7 separate regions of the Homo sapiens genome follow, and regions 1, 3, 4, 5, 6 and 7 are each linked to region 2. Evidence: promoter capture Hi-C in 16 types of primary human blood cells and fetal thymus (Javierre and others, 2016). All regions are on one chromosome and are shown on one strand. The core of a region is centred on a gene start or on the middle of the fragment in contact, and the rest is flanking DNA. Distances in the headings are between cores, read along the strand shown. Region 1 overlaps APLF (aprataxin and PNKP like factor). Region 2 holds the start of GKN2 (gastrokine 2). Region 3 has its middle 14 kb from the start of FBXO48. Region 4 overlaps APLF (aprataxin and PNKP like factor). Region 5 overlaps GFPT1 (glutamine--fructose-6-phosphate transaminase 1). Region 6 overlaps APLF (aprataxin and PNKP like factor). Region 7 overlaps APLF (aprataxin and PNKP like factor).

Region 1 (2,700 bases), core at 149-2,648, 480 kb before region 2:
TTCTTAATTGGGCATGTTTTTCTGAGACAAGCTTCACAAACCTTGATGGCCACACAAACATAAAAGTTTATAATCTGACTGTGTAAAATAGTCTTGGTAGTAAAACAGTTTGACAATGAGAATGGTTTTGTATTTTTATGGTGGTAGGAAAACACAACAGAGAAACCTGTCACAGAGAACAAAGGACAATGAAATTTAATCTTTCTTGTTCCCTTTGCTTTCATGTGAGTCATCAGAGAACCCCAGGTCTTTGTTTACTAGATTTTGATTCTGCTCCATGATTGGCATCAGTTAGAAGGTTTTACAGCAGGATTAATCTTCAGAGAACTTGAGTTAAAACAGCCAATCCAAAAGATTACATATTGTGTGATTCCATTTATATAACATCATTGAAATTGCGAAATTGCAAAATTTCAAAAATGGAGAACAGATTAGTGGTTGCCAAAGGTTAAAAAATTAGGCAGCAGGGCAGAAGGGAATGGATATGGCTATAAAATAGCAACATGAGGGATATTTGTGGTGATAGAAATGTGCTTTGTCTGGACTGTGTCAGTATCAATATCTTAGGTTGATATATTGTACTATAGTTTTGTAAGACGTTACCATTAGGGGAAACTGGATAAATGGTACAAGAGATATTTCTATATTATATCTTTCAACTACATGTGAATCTACCATTATCTTAAGAAATTTAATTTAAAAGGGTTTTACAGTACGACATGTCAAGCACTGTTAGGCCAAAGTATTTGCTTTATGGGTTTTAATTAAAGCTGTTACACTCTTAAATGAAATCTACTATTTCTGATTTCAGATTTTTCTTATTTTGTTTTGACAGCAGGGATTATATGACACATTTCTTTATGATCTATTTTCCTCCTAGGAAACAAGATAGCAAAAGATATCTAGTGATACTTTCTCAATGTAGATGTAATTAAATTGACTGCTTTGATTAAAAGGAGAAGAGTCCTCAGTTGGGGGAACAGGGAAGGTCATAGGCTTCAGTATAGACTCTTCAGGTGGCATCAGTTCACCACTTCTAAGAATGTTGTAAATGTTCTACAAAGTTTACACAAAGTAACCATCCCCTGACCTGGCAGCTCTATACTTTTAACTGCTTGTTGCAGAATCCTGGCTGTCCTGGAATGCTGTTCCTACCTGCTCCAACATAGGTTTCTTCCCTTACGTTTCTTTTATTTCTAGATTTGCCCTTCCCTCATTTTATTATTTAGCCTACAACCAGTGCCTAGCACACAGTAGGCCTTTAACACGTGATTTCTTCCTTCCATTTCGGCATCTCAGCCTCTCATTCACTCTACCCTCAAAAAGAGCCTAATTGTGACTTAGATATGAAAAAGGGTTATCATTGAGTTTTGAAGTGAATTTAAATATAGTAAAGATGCAGTCCTACCAACTGCTAAATCTTGAGTAGCATTCATAATGAATTAAGTTTTAACATTTTTCCTGTTTTGTTGATTGATAATTCGCTAAATTCAGGAAATAGCTGATAAATATATACTATGGTTGGATGGGAGGGAGTATAGGAGAAATAAAGGTGAATGAGAAACAAGTCTTTGCTCTCAAGAAACTTATAGTTTTGTAGGGTTAAGAGACAAATAAACAAGTATTAGTAACTAAATAAGGCTACAACCTCACATGGGGACTGGCGCCAGGCTGACACTTGGAGTAAGCGAAGTGGGAGGGAAGAAGAAAAACAACACAGGGACAGTGATAAATGACAACAGTTCTGCCTCAGTGTTGGGAAGGCCACAAGGAGAGGGTCTCTATGCAATCCCTGCTACTTTCCCCTATTCCCAGTTGGTAACAGTGTCATATTGTTTTTTTAAGAATAGTAAGAAATTTGAATTTTTAGATATAATCACTGATTTTTAAAAGGTCACATTTTTATTAAAAGTTTTGGTTAAATACCATGAGTCTGTTGATGAAGAGTTAAATTCTATAAAATATTTCAAGAGATTTATTCTGAGCCAAATATGAGTGACCATGGCCCGTGACACAGCCCTCAGGAGGTCCTGAGAGCATGTTCCCAAGATGGTCAGGGTACAGCTTGGTTTTTATATATTTTAGGGAGGCATGAGACATCAATCAAATACATTTAAGAAATACATTGGTTTGGTTCAGAAAGGCAGGACAACCCAAAGCAGGGGCTTCCAGGCTATAGGTAAATTTAAACATTTTCTGGTTGACAATTAGTTGAGTTTATCTCAAGACCTAAGATCAAAGGAAATGTTCAGGTTAAGATAAAGGATTGTGGAGACGAAGTTTTATTTTGCAGAGCTCTCAGATAGCGGACTTCAGAGATAGCAGGTTGTAAAATGTTTCTTATGAGACCTGAAAGAGTGCCTGGCTCTTAATTGATTATCTCCTGGATCTGGAAAGGAAGGAAGGAAAACAAAGGGGAAAGGGAATTCTCTATAGAATGTGGGTTTTTCCCACAAGAGACTTTGCAGGACAGTTCCAAGGTATGGCAAAGAAATATATTTTAGGGTAAAACATTTTGATTTTCTTCCTTGTTATGCCTGAGTCAGACTGGAAAGTAAGTCACGTTATACAGGGTTAAATAAAACTCATCTGATGAGAATTTATGGTTTGTAGGGCATGACTCCCCAGACCCCTTAGAAAGGAATTTGGGCAAGATAAAAAAAAATAATAATCAGAGCTTAGTCCTCAAGCTAGACAGAA
Region 2 (2,700 bases), core at 10-2,509:
TTCTCTTCTGGGGACTGGGAGTAGAGCATCTAACAAAGACCTGTGTGCTGATATTCAGCCTTCCATAGGGATACATCTTCTCTTACCACAGACCAGCTCCAGCAACATATGATACTCCCGTATATTCTAGTTAATGAGTCTAAAATAGTGGTTTGAACAAGTAGTCGAAGGACTAAACCACTTTAATGGTATGATTAGAGAGAGCTTGGGGAGTGTCCTCTGCCCCAAAATGATCTCCCTTCCAACACTGTGGTTAATACACCATGGTTATATAATACTTTTGTGCTTCAGGGTTAGGTCTCAATTTGGAAAATCAAGACAGCCCTGAGAGAGGGAGCTCTTTAAGCTGATAGTCTTTAACACTTTAGAAAGAGGTACTTAACATTTTGCTTTCTCCCTTAGCAGCTGAATGAGAATAAAGGACAGAGACTAGGGGAGCGAATTCCATTCTAGGTCAGAACATAGCCCACTGTCCATGGGGCACTGCAATGTGGAACTACGGAGGCTGGGATCAGATGGAGGGGTGGAGTGGCCATAGAAGGAACGTTTTGTCCTAAGGGAGAATTTAGTCATAATGAGAGGACATTGAAGACACTCTGGCTGCTTAAATTTGCCATGATTGCGCCTGCAAGTGGGGATTCAGATGGATAAATTACATTCTAAATCCCACATTTACGGGCTTGGGAAAATCACATTCCTCTGCCTCTCAGTCTCCTTATCTGTAAAACGGGGAGAATACTACTCAACTCATAGGGTTGTTGCAATGAATAGATGAAATTATTCATGTGATATGCTTAGTCTAAGGCTTAGTATGCATTTGAGAAATGAGAGGTACTATTATTACTATTACTGATATTATTTTTAAACTACAGCTTCTCTCTTAGATAGCAAATGTAGTTGTTTTAAATAGCCCAAATTCCCTATGAAGCTCATAATAAAGGATTATTATTAAACATCCTCCAAATCAAAATTATCTAGAGATTTCTTTGTATTTTTGAATTTTCTTTTAAGTAAACATCTCAAAACAGGAAAAGGACAAAAAAAGTCAGACTTATTCAACACTATTTCTGCCAAAGATGTCATTAATTCAATCACAGAAGCTTAGAAGCATGCACAGTATCTGTCTAAGACTCCCAAAATCCATGGCATATTAGATATGAGCATTGTCTGCAAGCAGTCACCACAAGAGTATCAAGAAGCAGAAACAAATACTCACAAGTATTTTCATTTTGCCTGGGAGAGGAAGGTGCTGGAGTAAGTAAAGCTGCCCTGTGCAGCTTCTATCCTTTATATGGGCTTGAAGATGTGGATATCTCTTTTTCAAATGATCACTTTGGAAAAGACCATGTCTATATCTCTGACACACCCTAGCAAACTCCTTTATCAGAATTGAGATCCAACCACATACCTGATATCAATGAAGTTCATTAGTCAGTAATGAAAATTCACCACTTGGTCACTCTGTAAATATTCCCTGCTATTTGTACTATGCTGCACTTGACATTTTAATTTCCACCCTTTAAAAATATTGCATGATGCTTGTTCTATGCATACATTTTATAGCTCTACAAGGACAAACTTCTAACATCTCCTCCTAAAGGAAGAGTGCTTCCTTAAGGCCTGAGTTGGGCCCCAACTCAATGTCTTTTCACCACTGTTCTGCTGGCTGAATTCTTCCACAGAGGGAACGGATATGAGACGGGGTGCCAAGACAGTGGCTGGGGAGGCCTGCTTGGAGAACAAACAGCCTAGGACTTTCTTCGTTCTTCCCTTTAGATTTGGTGTCAATTTCCAGAAATTAATGAGGAACAAGACTCAGAAAGCATTCTCCCCAATTACCAAGTTTAACCAAATTTTTACATTAAGCTTCGCCCAAAACTGCACAAAACTGTAAGTTAGAGACCTCTAGTTATCTTGCAGAGTATTAAGAAATTCTTAGATTGAAAAAAAAAAAAAAGAGAGAGAAAGAGAATAAAGTTTAATTTGTGTAATTTTTTTAACATGACAATTAGAAATGGCTAGTTAGTGTCAGGGTATAATCATGAACTCAGGAAGGGAAATTTAAAAACAAAACAAACAACAACAACAACAAAAACAATAAACTGCGGCTGGGCGCAGTGGCTCATGCCTGTAACCCCGGCAATTTGGGAGGCCAAGGCGGGCAGATCACCTGAGGTCAGAAGTTTGAGACCAGCCTGGACAACATGGTGAAACCCCGTCTCTACTATGGTGAAACCCCGTCTCTACTAAAAGTACAAAAAAATTAGCCAGGCGTGATGGTGCTCGCCTGTAGTCCCAGCTACTCAGGAGGCTGAGGCAGGAGAATTGCTTGAACCCGGGAGGCAGAGGTTGCAGTGAGCCAAGATCATGCCACTGCACTCCAGCCTGGGTGATAGAGCAAGATTCCATCTCAAAACAAAACAAAACAAAAAACCCCAGTAAATTGCAAAATTGTAAAATATTGAGAATCACCACAGTAAACAAAGAGATAACATAAATAATGGCCTTGTTCTATAGCTGAAACAACTTTCTAACTTTAGCAGCTTTAAACAAAAATGGGGTTCTCAAAAAGTAGACATCTGGGCAAGTTAAGGGTTACCTAGTTCACTGGAATCTCCCTACCCTGGCTGTTCAGTGGGGGTGGATGTAAAACACGCAGCTTTATTAAATCTTTCTCAGATAGTAGCTGCAGAAAGGATT
Region 3 (2,700 bases), core at 10-2,509, 500 kb before region 2:
TATATAATATATATTATATATTATAATATATAATATACATTATATATTACATATTATATATAATATATTATATATTATATATTACATATTATATATAATATATTATATATTATATTAAATATATATTTTATATATTATATATTATATATTATATAAAATATATATATTATATATTATATAAAATATATATATATTATATTATATATTATATTAAATATATATTTTATATATAATATATATAATATATAATATATAAAATATATATTATATATTATATATAAATTATATATATTATATATAAAATATATAATATATATTATATATAAATATACATATTATAGATATCTATTCTTTATCCACTCTTCTTGGTTGATGGACATTTAGGTGTTTTTTTAAAATGTAGTATAAACCAGTAGTTCCTAACAAGAGGGATTTTCCCCCAGGAGACATTTGGCAATGTCTGGCGACATTTTTGGTTGCCAGCACTTGGGAAGTGGTGCTACTGGCATCTAATGAATAGAGGCCAGCGGTGCTGCTAAACATTCTACAGTGTATACGACAGCACCCCTGCCCCTCCCCCAAACAAAGAATTATCCAGCCCAGAATGTTAATAGTGATAAAGTTTAGGGACCTGGTATAGACAGAGATAAAGCACACATGGTTAAAGTTAACAATTGGTTAATCTAGGTGATGATGCCATATTCTAGACTTTGAAATTTTTTGTAAGAGTGAAAACTTTCAAAATAAAACATTTAGGGAGAAAGCACGTTTAAAAATATATAATAAAAGTCTGAGAGAGAAAAAAAAAAGTTGAACTGATGAAAAAAGTAGGCCATACACAGGAAAACAATGGCAAAAGCAGTCCTTTTTATTTTCTTCACTAACCAATGAGAATAAAGACAGGAAATTGTGCTCAATCTACTTGTTAGGCAACAAAAAAACACAACCACAGCAATAAGTGGGGGAGATTCTCACGTGTGATTTTTAGAAAGCTTCTTTTATGGTTTTACATATTTTCTATCAGGATTTCATTGTGTGACAAATGGACTGTATAATTTTGTCATATTAAAAGTAAATCAAAATGAGCAAACTGGGAAACCAGCAGCTGGGTTTTTTTCCCCTACAAGGCACAGAAGACCCATAGCAGAAAAGTAGGCCTCAGAAAATGATTATTAAAAATTTCTTTTGGGCCAGAACAGTGGTTCATGCTTGTAATTCCAGCACTTTGGGAGGTTGAGGGGAGAGGATTGCTTGAGCTCAGGAGTTCGAGGCCAGCCTGGGCAACATAGTGAGACCCAGTCTCTAAAAATAAATAACTAAATTAATTAATTAAGAAAAATTTTTTCTTGAGCAGTTAATGTTTATGATAATACAGTATGATTGGTGTGGTACTTGTAAAACTGCAGTTTTATCTTTTTTTATTTCCATCCGGCCCTGACTGGGTAAGGACAAGGAGGTATTGGAAAATGCAAACAGGTTCATGAAAAAAGTCAGTTTTACTTGTGGTAGAACTCAATATAAGGATGTCAAGCTTTTATTAGAAACCCAACCCGCATGCCTTGTTTATTACCTTCTTCTGTCTCAGCTGTTCTTTATAGTTTTTACTCTTTCTTCCTTTTCCAGCATTATTTTATTGTGTAGAGTAATACTAGAATGGGTTGTTTTTTTTTTGTAATACATTCCGCTGTATTTTCCATGCCCAGTAATTCTTATTTCTCTGCAGCTCTCTGCCTGGAAAGACAGGCATCCAGTGCTTTGTGGGTCTGGTAGGTACAGCCGAGAATAAAGAAGTCAGAACTCAGCTTTGAATTTCAAAAGACTTTTTTCAAGCATAGAAGACTCAGAAGTCTTAACTGCTAGGCTTTCAACTGAGAAACGAAAATAAAATCCAAAGGTCCCCCCTGCAACTGACTAAAAGGACTCCCCTCTTGGCTAAGGAGATCCTAGAGAAATCTTAAAAGCTGAATTCCCAGCCATGATGGATTGGGAGGTCAGACATGCCCTGTTATACTCCCTCCCTTGCTACTTGCCATTATACTTCCACTCCTAAGTGTTAAACAGAAACAGGCCCTTTCTGAAGACTTGCTGGACTCTTCTTCCTTTTTGCAGTTTGACACAACAACTGACCATCATTCCTTCCTGATAAGAGGCCACTAACCATGGACTGGTTCTGGCCGGTTTACAGAAGCTGCACACAGGATGCTTCTGTGTCCTCTGTTTCAGCTTTTGACGTATAGAGCCTAATTTTAATACATTTAAATGTTAAGTTTCCATCCTAAAGTGAACATAGGATGTAGGTAACATACATGTTAGCTTGCTGTGCATGAGTGCACTCCCCTTTTGTGAATATTCATAGCTCCTCCTATAGCCTGTTAAATGTATATACTTAGCTGACCCTTTCAGCCTAAATTCCTGTCTTACCCTTCCCTCCCTAGAAGTACCTGCTTCTGGTTTCTGCCAGAAGCTACCCTTCCCAGGCTGTGGGATGGCCAGCCTGCAGGCTGCAACCCTTTATAAGAAATAAAGCTCTCCTTTCCACATTCATGAACCTCGTGATTCTTCAGTTGGCACAACAAAATGATAGAGGCACTTGAGGAAGAAAAAGGTCTTTTTAATTCCAAATTATTCCCTTTAGAGAATCTAGAACAGTGTTTATTAAATGAACTACCAGATATAGGAAGGAAGAAAAAGATAGGATAT
Region 4 (2,700 bases), core at 173-2,672, 460 kb before region 2:
AATGAAAGATGACTGCCAGTTCATGTATATATTATGATTTGGTTTAAAATTGAATACTCCAAATAATAAGAAAGCCCATAACTATTAATGGTTGGTTTTTTGAGCTGGGGTAGTGACCAAAGTAACTTAAATGTTATAGGGTTATATTTTAACATATTCTCTATCACTCTGTATAGAGTTGAATATTTCTAAAACTTAGACTTTGTTCAACTTCGAGGTTTGAAAAATGATTTTAATTTGAAAGTTTTTGTTGAGGGCTCGAATTTTAATTGCTTGCTTTATAGTTTACTGCTGCGAAATCACTGATGATATGCAGGGACAGCCAGTTTCCAAGAATATACAATGTGATTATTCCTTTTCATTTGCAGAGTCTATTGTGTAAGAGAATGAAATACGTACATAAGGGTCCATTTATTTTAGACTAGATCGTATGGTGGTAAAATTTCATGGAATTCATTAATTTATAACTTTTTAAAACCAATTTGTATTTTCATATTTTATATACCACTGCCTGTTAAATCATTAGTTCTTTCTTTTACACAGATAGTACTTGCTTTTATTATCCTATGTTTAACTGTTTGCAAATTTGGAAAGCATCTTTTTAATTTTAGTACTTGGAAATTTTTTGAATAAAAAATTATTCAATGTATTCACCTTATCTCAACCTTGAATAAATAATCTTTAAAAGAGTTTATGTCTCATCTTCATTCTGCATTATCTTATTGTCTTGAAAAAGTGTTAATATCTGGAGTCAACACTTCTTTAGGAGCCACTGTATTTACCATTAGATATTCATCTCTGTATCCTCTCCAGCTATCTTATTCTTCTGAGATGACATACTGGATCATAAGGCCCTTGAGTGTAGGAACTCTGACTAATCTTTGTATCCCTAGTGTTTAGCATAGTGCCTAAGACATAGTAGGTATTTAATTAATATTTGTTGAATGCATGAGTAAACGCTGTGGTGAGAACTATCTATGGCATATCTAGGAGTGGGAACATGGTAGATTTTTACAAAAGTATGTTATTCTCTAGTGCCCAATTTCTAATACCCTGCCAATGAACTACCATGGCCTAAAATAAGTTTTTTTGTTGTTACTAAAGCACATTAAAGGAAAGAATAGAGGGATCTTGAAATATAGAAATGATTATTTTTTATTTATATAGATTTAGGGAGTGCAGTGCAGTTTTGTTACATGATTATATTGTGAAATGGTGAAATCTGAGCTTTTAGTGTAACCGTCACCTGAATAGTGTACATTGTACCCATTAGGTAATTTCTCAACCCTGTCCCACCTCTCACACTACCACCCTTCTGAGTCTCCAGTGTCTGCTCTGCCACTGTGTCCATGTCAGCACATTTATTTTGTGAACAAATTAACCAGTGGAATTGTGGACAACTCAATAGATATCAGATTTTCTCTTTACACTCTTTGTTTACTCAATGATAAGAAGAAACCCTTCTTATAACAAAATTGACATGGCATTAAATTTTTTTATATCAAAAATAGGTGATTAGAAAACCGTCATATTTACTAATGCATGAATATTTTAAACATTTACATTTTTTCTCAGTGTTAATCAAGGACATTTATATTTTAAAATGTTTTATAAATTGGCTTTAATAAAGGTGCTTAGTTGGAGTTGTGTCTATACTTGGCTGAAAATTATTCAGATATATTTTGTACTTTTGTGGCTATTCAAAAGAGTACTAATAAGGCTGGGCGCGGTGGCTCACGTCTGTAATCCCAGCACTTTGGGAGGCCGGGGTGGGTGGATCACGAGGTCAGGAGATCGAGACCATCCTGGCTAACACGGTGAAACGCCGTCTCTACTAAAAATACAAAAAATTAGCCGGGCACGGTGGTGGGCGCCTGTAGTCCCAGCTACTCTGGAGGCTGAGGCAGGAGAATGGCGTGAACCCGGGAGGCGGAGCTTGCAGTGAGCCGAGATTGTGCCACTGCACTCCAGCCTGGGCGACAGAACGAGACTCCGCCTCAAAAAACAAACAAAAAAAGAGTACTAATAATGTAAAATAAATATGCCCAAATTAAAGGTGATTTTATTAGTTGAAAATCTTACCTTGAGTTAAATTTTATCCAGTATGTACTGAGCCAAATTTCTATGTGAGATTTTAGCAGTGTTCAGTTATAAAAAGGCTCCTTTTTAAAATACTCTTCACTTTTACTGGGTCTTTAATTAGATGGTACGCAGATCATAAAACCACTATGTATGACATTAACAGGTGTCTTTTGAGCACAAAACTGTAGTAGAAATAATACTAGAAGCTAGAGCAAAAATTCCTCATGACCACTAGATATAAAACTAAAATTTGGAATGATTTATTTAAGTTATACCTCTGTTTATGATCTTTTAAATATTATTTAGTGTAATTTTGTAAACTTTCCCATAAATGTGATGTTTAGACATGGGAGAAAGGTAGCTCTTTTTTATCCTTTTTCGAGTACCTTTTTTTGACAACTTAGAATGTCATAGCCTTCTGGAGAACGTCTGATCTTAAATACTCAGCAAATTCTAGAATGGGAATGAGAGCCCAGGTTCTTTGAACTCTGTAGTATTTTTTTGTTGTTGTTATGTTTCTGAAGTCAGGATTCTCTTGGCATTGGGTGTCTTTTCTTTAAAAAAATTTCTTCAAGTTACAACTAATTGATGATCTGTCTTAACAAGAAGTTTTAGTGC
Region 5 (2,700 bases), core at 98-2,597, 400 kb after region 2:
TGAGGCAGGCTATATTATCCTCATGTTATATATAAGAAAACTAAAGCACAAAGAGAATAAAAAGGAACAGAACATTAACTATTTTTATGTTTATAAAGTATCTTTAAAGTATCAAGTGTTAATAACCTTTTTATAATGTTACAAATAACAAATCATTAATTAGTTTGAAGACGATTGTAAAAACAGCAGATAATTTCTCTAAAGAATCATCCCTTTTCCTAGCGTTGTCCCTTCACTAATCATGTGGAAGATTCCACTCATCATTCATTACTAGATTTAATATGCTAGGAAAGGAAGTAGAATATATTCTTTCCAGTAAGGACAGCAAGCTATAACATGACAAAAACTTTCACCCTTCATGATCTGCTGGAGTTCCATCTGGAGTGTTTGCACAGCTCGTCCGGGGTGATCTCCTGCAGTTCGTTTAATTCGATGGATAGAAAGACGTCCATCCACTACTGCTGCAACATCATCATCTTCCAGAAAGATGACGCGATTGGTGTGTTCTATGACAGCACTATAAAGTTTTCAAGGAGATATTACAATCGATAACCAAGGATCATTATTACAAATGAAACTATCATTTGGATACAAGAACCAAATTTCAATATAAACTCTATCACTCTGCAGTATCTCAGAGAATTTTCTGGTTACTAATGCCAACCCCTACAGGAAAGTATGGGGAAGGTGGTCATTGTGGACAAAAAATAAAAGGAACTCTGCATAGCAATCTAAACCAAACAGATTAGATCAGAAAGCATGGTTGTTTCCTCCTCATTCTATCCATTACCAAGTCCTGAAATTTTAACTTCCAAATATTCTTAGTTTCTATGTCCACCACCAGACAAATTCAAGCTCCCATCAGCTCCTCGGGTGGACTACTGCAGCGATCTCCCAATTAGTCCACCCACTTTCTCTCTGATCTCTCTCCGTCCATCCTCCATTTCTGCCAAAATTGATATCAAAAGGCAACAACTCTAATAAAGATTTCTCCTTCACTCAACAAACCATTTGACAGTTTCCCTTTGGCTCTCAGAGAGACAACAAAGTGCCTTACCGTAATCCCTATACCTCCTTCTCCAGCTTCATCTCCCCCCAAGCTTCCTCTCACTCTCTCTATTCTGGCCACACTCAAAGCCATCCTAAACTCTCACAGGCTGAGCCATTTGCAAAGAATGAATGTTCCTCCCTCTACCTGTTAACCTAATTAACTCCTAATCTCTCCTTAACTCTCAGTTCAAACATCATTCCCTTAAAGAAATTTACCCACCAAGGGTAAATCACTCTGTTACTAGCATTCTGCAGCTCTTGTCACAGCTGGAATTCTACACTTCTGTGATCATTGTTTAAAATTTGCCTCCTCACTATGGAAGAGCTCCTAAGGAAAAGTAATATTTTTATTTTTACTCACCATTATCTCCTGACGCTAGCATATGACTTCACCCAGTGTTCAATATGAATGTATAAATGAATGAGAAAAGGCTGATATGTTTCTGTAATTCCAGTGTATTTAAGCCATAACTGTCAACTGTGTAATCTTACACATCTTAGCCCTGACTACACACCTTACACACCTGTAAAAACATTAAAGAGTAAAGCTTGTTTTCCCACTGAGATAATATATTCCCTGATGTCCTAAATGGCATTATTTTCTTATTTTTATTATTTTCTCTTATTTTCAGGTACAGTGGATGACTCAAATACTTGTTTGCAATTTCGGTGATTTTATTTTATCCTCATTACTATTTCATTTACAAATGCATGTAAACATCCCCCTGCATTTTCTCTCAAAATATCTTAGTCTACTACTATCCCTTTATAAAAATGATTATGCTGCAAATTAATTCTAAATGTAAAAGATGAGTATCTACATTAGACTAAAACTACAATAGTTTAGCAACTATGCTATAACTATTGGGATACTAACTAAGCCATTTTACTCTTCAATCTAGAATCTCCTCCCTTCAAAACCTGGATAAGGCTCCTGAAATAAGAAGGAAAAAAATGTAAGAGCTCTAAAATAAATACACTGGAACAAGTCTCAAGCAGTATATGTGTTCTTAGTAAACTGACCCACATACTTTGAAATGACAGAAAAAGTGTCCTTACAGCCCCATCTCCAAAATGGTCACCTGTATTTCTTTAATTTAAAAAGTTATCTCACAGAGCACAACTAGACTGATACACAATGACTTCTTGGGTTTCCTGCAGAATGAGAAGTTTTACTAAAAATCTCTTTGAATCAACTAAGGAAGCTCACCTTGCATCAGAAGCAAAGTAATACTCCACTGCTTTTTCTTCCACCGGGAAAAGGCAGGTTGTGCTGTCCACACGAGAGAGATTGCAGCTTCCTTTCTTGTCTTTGCCTAAAGCATATAGTTAACATGAATTGGCAAACATGTAGAAAATCATGTCCAATGTAGAAATATGCATAATATTCTATAAAATCAAGAAAAAATCATAGCAACACAAAACAATTTTAGCAAATTTAAAAAGCCAAGTAGATCACCTTATTTCCATGCAATAAGCCAATAAGAACAGACAAAAAGTGTACAGTGAAGTAGCAACTATCAAAGAGTGCGTGGCAGGTAAAAGTGCTACATTATATGTTTTTTTAATATAATATTTATTTTCCAGGTAAAAGACAAGTAATTCCTTAATATTAACCGGTTTTTTAAATCAAAAGTATGTATAAATTAA
Region 6 (2,700 bases), core at 124-2,623, 420 kb before region 2:
CAGCTTCTCACTGGAGCCTGTCTTCCAGCTACAGAAGTGGGGCCTGGTCGCTATACACTCAGTTCCTTTGCTTTACTTATGGAGGCAAGCTTAATAAATGAAAACAAAATGTTTTCTGGCTCACATATATTTTCCATAAAACTTATTAAAACAAAATTTGTTTTGTATAAACTTTGAGCCCTTATGTACTCTATTCTCTGAACTCTGAACATGTCAATTGACGTTGCCTTTTTTCAAGAGAAATTATTGTGTTCAGAAGAAAATCTGTAGTATACGTGTTTTCCTCTGTTTATCCCAACCCATAAGGTTTGATAATCACAAGAAAAACTTTGAGAAACATCTTAATTGATAGATTATAGAGAGGAGCAGATCCAAGATATTCAAGCTATTTGTGAGGTTTTGATGACATCAAGGGAGTATTACAACCAGGTCCGAGGAATGCCCAAGTTCTATTTGGCCAGTTGCTTTTCCTTCCCTTCCTTGTGAGGAAGATTTACCTCTTCTAGCACAGGAAAAATAAGGCTTAAATTTTCATGATCCTTTATGCAGGGCTCTCTGGTAAAGCTGAGCCAGAGAATATGACTTAGACTGAAAATCCCAGCAGAGCCTTTCCAAACCCCACCCTCCATCCCTGCCCAGTTTGAGTCTGAACACTGAACCTTTAGAACAGCTAGTCCTAAAGGGATAGCTGTAGTGCAGAGCAGGTGAGAGAGAAAACAAGAGGCTAGGTTCACCTATCTATTCTAATGGCAGGAGGTTGCCAGCTACAAAAAACTAACAACAGTTTGGCCAGGCCTACATTTGGATCAATCTACTTGGAAAGAATTACATTCTCTTAGGGAAAAGTAGGAGAATCAGTGGAGAGAAGGGACAAAAATCACTTATGCCCAACTAGACCTTGTTTCTGAGATTCTGATTCATTTGGTGTGTGGAGCCTGTGCATCAGTGGTATCTTAAACTCTCCCAATTTTAGTGTCCCTTCAAAATTAAGAGCTACTGTTGTATCATCATTGAACACCTCAGAGGAAACTGAGGCCCAAGGTCACATTGTTAGGAAACTTGGCTTCAAATGTAGGTATTTTCATTTTGGGTATAATGAATTTTTCTACCATACGTATTAGACTATGTAAAGAGTTTTGTGACTGTAGTAACTTCTCTTCATAAGACAGTTGTCAGAAATAGTCTATATTTTTCATCAGTTCTTGTATGTCTTTCTACAACTCCTTCCCAGTTATGTGACTTTCTAATTTAGATGTGAAAATGAGGGTACTTGAATTGATTAACTTTAGTGAAAAGGATGGTTGCCATGGTTTGAGTGTTTTTATCTCCTCTAAAGATTTATGTTGAAACTTAATCCTCAGAGCAACAGTATTGGGAGGTGGGCCTAATGGGAGGCTGTTTAGGTTATGAGGGCTCTGTGCTCATGAATGGATAATGCTGCTATAAAAAGGGATTGTGAAGCTGGATGCAGTGACATGCACCTGTAGTCCCAGCTACTTGGGAGGCTGAAGCAGGAGGACTGCTTAAGCCCAGGAGTTTAAGGCCAGCCTGGGTGACGTAAGGAGACCTCATCTCTAAAAAAAAGGTCGGGGGCTTGGCTTGTAGAAGTGGGTTTACACTCTTTCACTCTTCTGCCATATAAGGGCACAGCATTCATCCTTTCATGCCCTTCCACCTTCCCTCATGTAAGAATGCAGTAAGGAGCCTCACACCAGATGCTGGTGCCTTGATCTTGGACTTCCCAGACCCCACAACTGTGAGATAATAAATTTCTGTTCTTTATAAATTTTCAAGTTTGTGATATTCTGTTATCACAGCTACAAAACAGACTATGTATTTCCTTTATAATCTATATTATATTATAATCTAATGAGAACTCTTGTAAATGACAGAAGGAAGCCTAACTGAAACAACATAAGCGAAAATAGTATGGTAAAGTGTTTTAACTGTCTATTGCTGTGAAACAAGCTACTCCAACTCTTAGTGGCTTAACACAACATGATCATGTCAGTGATTATGATTATATTCTGCCTTATAATTGTGTGGGTTGGCTGGGGTCAGCTGGGCAATTCTTTTATGACATGTTTTTGGTGTCAGCTGGGCTTCATTCAGCTGAGAACTCAGCTGAAGATGAAGCATCTGTGATAGCTTTACTCGTGTGAATGGTGCCTCAGCAAAGGTTGATGGAATGGCTGGGGGCTGGCTGGGCCCACCTCCCTCCCTGTACCATGAAGTAGCCTAGACTGAGCATCTTCACCTGACATCTGGGCCCCAAGAGAGTGATGTCAAAGCTGTTAGATCTTTTAAGGCCTAGAACTGGAATTGTAATTTTTGCTGAATTCTTTTGGTCAGAGCAAGTTACCAGGTCTCATAGGGTGAAGACAGCAGTGTGACCAGTTCATAGAGAAGGGCCCTTGAAATGTTTTCAGTCACAGAGGTAATCCTGGCAGCTCACTAGAGGAGAGATTGGAAAAGAACAAGATAAAAGACTTGGAGGTAAGGGAAGAGATTGTGGCATTAACAAAGTGAAGAAATAGAGAATCTAAACTAGGGCAGTGACTTTAAGGATGGTAAGAAGTATTGGATTATAAAAGTATTCAGGAATAAAATTGTAGGACTTCTTGCTTGGATCTGGGGAGAGAGGGCAAGAAGGAGTAAAAAGCTTCTAAATTTCTGGCTAGCATGAATAGATGAAATATG
Region 7 (2,700 bases), core at 180-2,679, 440 kb before region 2:
ACAAAAATTAATTCGAGATGGATTAAAGACTTAAATGTTAGACCTAAAACCATAAAAACCCTAGAAGAAAACCTAGGCAATACCATTCAGGACATAGGCATAAGCAAGGACTTAATGTCTAAAACACCAAAAGCAATGGTAACAAAAGCCAAAATTGACAAATGGGATCTCATTAAACTAAAGAGCTTCTGCACAGCAAAAGAAACTACCATCAGAGTGAACAGGCAACCTACAGAATGGGAGAAAATTTTTGCAATCTGCTCATCTGACAAAGGGCTAATATCCAGAATCTACAAAGAACTCAATCAAATTTATAAGAAAAAAACAACCCCATCAAAAAGTGGGTGAAAGATATGAACAGACACTTCTCAAAACAAGACATTTATGCAGCCAACAGACACATGAAAAAATGCTCATCATCACTGGCCATCAGAGAAATGCAAGTCAAAACCACAATGAGATACCATCTCACACCAGTTAGAATGGTGATCATTAAAAAGTCAGGAAACAACAGGTGCTGGAGAGGGTGTGGAGAAATAGGAACACTTTTACACTGTTGGTGGGACTGTAAACTAGTTCAACCACTGTGGAAGACAATGTGGCGATTCCTCAGGGATCTAGAACTAGAAATACCATTTGACCCAGCCATCCCATTACTGGGTATATACTCAAAGGAATATAACTCATGCTGCTATAAACACACATGCACACGTATGTTTATTGCAGCACTATTCACAATAGCAAAGACTTGGAACCAACCCAAATGTCCATCAATGATAGACTGGGTTAAGAAAATGTGACATGTATACACCATGGAATACTATGCAGCCATAAAAAAGGATGAGTTCATGTCCTTTGTAGGGACATGGATGAAGCTGGAAACCATCATTCTCAGCAAACTATCGCAAGGACAAAAAACCAAACACTGCATGTTCTCACTCATAGGTGGGAATTGAACAATGAGAACACTTGGACACAGGAAGGGGAACATCACACACCAGGGCCTGTTGTGGAGTGGGGGGAGGGGGGAGGGATAGCATTAGGAGATACACCTAATGTAAATGACGAGTTAATGGGTGCAGCACACCAACATGGCACATGTATACATATGTAACAAACCTGCATGTTGCGCACATGTACCCTAGAACTTAAAGTATAATAAAAAAATAATAATATACAAAAAAAGAAAGTGAAAAGACAACCACAGAATGAGAAAATATTTGTAAATCACATATAACAGACTTATATTCAGAATATCTAAAGAATCCTCAACAATGCAAAGGCAAACAACCCAATTTTAAAATGCATAACTGATTTGAATAGACATTTTTCCAAAGAAGGTGTACAGGTGGTCAGTAGAACATGAAAAAATGTTCAACATCACTAGTCACAGGGAAATGCAAATTAACACCGCAATGAGATACCACTTTACATCTACTAGGAAAGCTATAATCAAAAATATAATAACAAGTGTTGGTGAGGTTGTGAAGAAACTGAACTATTATACATTGTGGTGGGATTATAAAATGGTATAGCCTCTTTGGAACATATTCTGGCAGTTCCTCAAAAGTTTAAACATGGAATTACTGTGTGGCTCAGCATTTCCACTCCTATGTATATACCCAAAAGAATTGAAAACCTATGTCCACATCAAAACTTGTACATAGATGTTCACAGCAGCATTATTCATAATAGCCAAAAAGTGGAAATAACTCAGCTGTCCAGCAACTGTTGAATAGATAAACAAGTATTGTATAGTCATACAGTAGAATATTATTTGGCCATAAAGAGGAATGAAATATTTACATATGCTACAACACAGGTGAATCTTGAAACATTATGCTAAGTAAAAAAGCTAGACACGAAAGACCACATACTGTATTTCATTTATATGAAATATGTAGAAAATGTGATCTTTGGAGACAGAAGGTAGATTAATGGTTGCGAGGAGCAGGAGGAAGAGGCAATAGGAAGAGATTGCTAATGCATATGGAATTTCTTTTTGAGGTGTTGAATATGTTCTAAAATTAGATATTGGTGATAGTTGCACAACTCTGTTAACATACTAATAACCACTGGATAGTACACTTTAACAGGATGAATCTTATGACTATATGGATTATTTTTCAATAAAGCAGTTATAAAAAAGGATAACTCAATTACCTTTACTAGACTACATTTAACTTTCCAAGTTTTAATTTTTTATTTAAAATATTCTGTAGTGATGCTTTATAAATCCTGTGATAGTTGATTACTCATAGATGTATTTGAAGATAAAATAAAAATATATATCACAGTGACAGTGTTTTATATTTAAATAAATGTGTAGTAGAATAATTTGTACTTGTACTTTTTGAATAAAATGTTAAATAGAATTTTGTTCTGAAATTTTTTTTGTTACGTTTATTGTGGGTAACTATTAATAAAAATTACATATGGACTATAGAGTGTATATGAATTCATCTCAGACTTATGCCACAATAGAAAATAAACTAGAAATGGAATTGATGATGTTACTTAATTCCTAATACTATAAATTGTGAAAAATCATCAAACTACTATTGAATGTTTCTTAATATTTTTCATGTTAAATATTAAGAAAACTTGAAAAAAATTATAATTTGGAAGTACACCTGTAACCTGTGAGTAAAACAGGACTGGGTATTGTAGTGGAGTGAACTTTCATAGCTAGGACAATCA

The links. The method cuts DNA at HindIII sites, captures the fragments that hold promoters and counts their contacts. A CHiCAGO score of 5 or more calls a contact.
Region 1: a contact is called between a fragment that was not itself captured here and the fragment with the promoter of GKN2 in region 2, in 8 of 17 cell types (activated CD4 T cells, naive B cells, M0 macrophages and 5 more). The highest score is 8.5, in activated CD4 T cells.
Region 3: a fragment that was not itself captured here is called in contact with the fragment with the promoter of GKN2 in region 2 in 9 of 17 cell types (activated CD4 T cells, naive CD4 T cells, total CD4 T cells and 6 more); the score reaches 17.4 in activated CD4 T cells.
Region 4: a fragment that was not itself captured here is called in contact with the fragment with the promoter of GKN2 in region 2 in 8 of 17 cell types (activated CD4 T cells, total CD4 T cells, total B cells and 5 more); the score reaches 10.5 in activated CD4 T cells.
Region 5: a contact is called between a fragment that was not itself captured here and the fragment with the promoter of GKN2 in region 2, in 1 of 17 cell types (M1 macrophages). The highest score is 5.1, in M1 macrophages.
Region 6: a fragment that was not itself captured here is called in contact with the fragment with the promoter of GKN2 in region 2 in 6 of 17 cell types (activated CD4 T cells, naive CD4 T cells, non-activated CD4 T cells and 3 more); the score reaches 8.4 in activated CD4 T cells.
Region 7: a fragment that was not itself captured here is called in contact with the fragment with the promoter of GKN2 in region 2 in 6 of 17 cell types (naive CD4 T cells, total CD4 T cells, naive CD8 T cells and 3 more); the score reaches 8.6 in naive CD4 T cells.

Annotation. Positions count from the first base shown.
Region 1 is chr2:68,469,856-68,472,555 of GRCh38, forward strand. All of the region lies in intron 1 of APLF (aprataxin and PNKP like factor), which reads left to right. Among named protein-coding and RNA genes, the nearest start is that of APLF, 3.6 kb to the left of the region's middle. The HindIII fragment of the contact is 2,738 bases long and covers 30-2,700 here.
Region 2 is chr2:68,951,634-68,954,333 of GRCh38, forward strand. GKN2 (gastrokine 2) reads right to left here and starts at 1,260. Exons shown (of 6, transcript NM_182536.3): 1 at 1,217-1,260. The coding sequence starts at 1,228. The HindIII fragment of the contact is 766 bases long and covers 1,099-1,864 here.
Region 3 is chr2:68,451,812-68,454,511 of GRCh38, forward strand. No RefSeq gene overlaps it. Among named protein-coding and RNA genes, the nearest start is that of FBXO48, 14 kb to the right of the region's middle. The HindIII fragment of the contact is 539 bases long and covers 991-1,529 here.
Region 4 is chr2:68,490,479-68,493,178 of GRCh38, forward strand. All of the region lies in intron 2 of APLF (aprataxin and PNKP like factor), which reads left to right. Among named protein-coding and RNA genes, the nearest start is that of APLF, 24 kb to the left of the region's middle. The HindIII fragment of the contact is 4,870 bases long and covers 1-2,700 here.
Region 5 is chr2:69,347,818-69,350,517 of GRCh38, forward strand. It overlaps GFPT1 (glutamine--fructose-6-phosphate transaminase 1), which reads right to left. Exons shown (of 20, transcript NM_001244710.2): 10 at 2,261-2,366; 11 at 354-517. Among named protein-coding and RNA genes, the nearest start is that of GFPT1, 38 kb to the right of the region's middle. The HindIII fragment of the contact is 498 bases long and covers 1,099-1,596 here.
Region 6 is chr2:68,531,485-68,534,184 of GRCh38, forward strand. The region is part of intron 6 of APLF (aprataxin and PNKP like factor); the gene reads left to right. Among named protein-coding and RNA genes, the nearest start is that of APLF, 65 kb to the left of the region's middle. The HindIII fragment of the contact is 2,573 bases long and covers 88-2,660 here.
Region 7 is chr2:68,509,058-68,511,757 of GRCh38, forward strand. The region is part of intron 3 of APLF (aprataxin and PNKP like factor); the gene reads left to right. Among named protein-coding and RNA genes, the nearest start is that of APLF, 43 kb to the left of the region's middle. The HindIII fragment of the contact is 6,502 bases long and covers 1-2,700 here.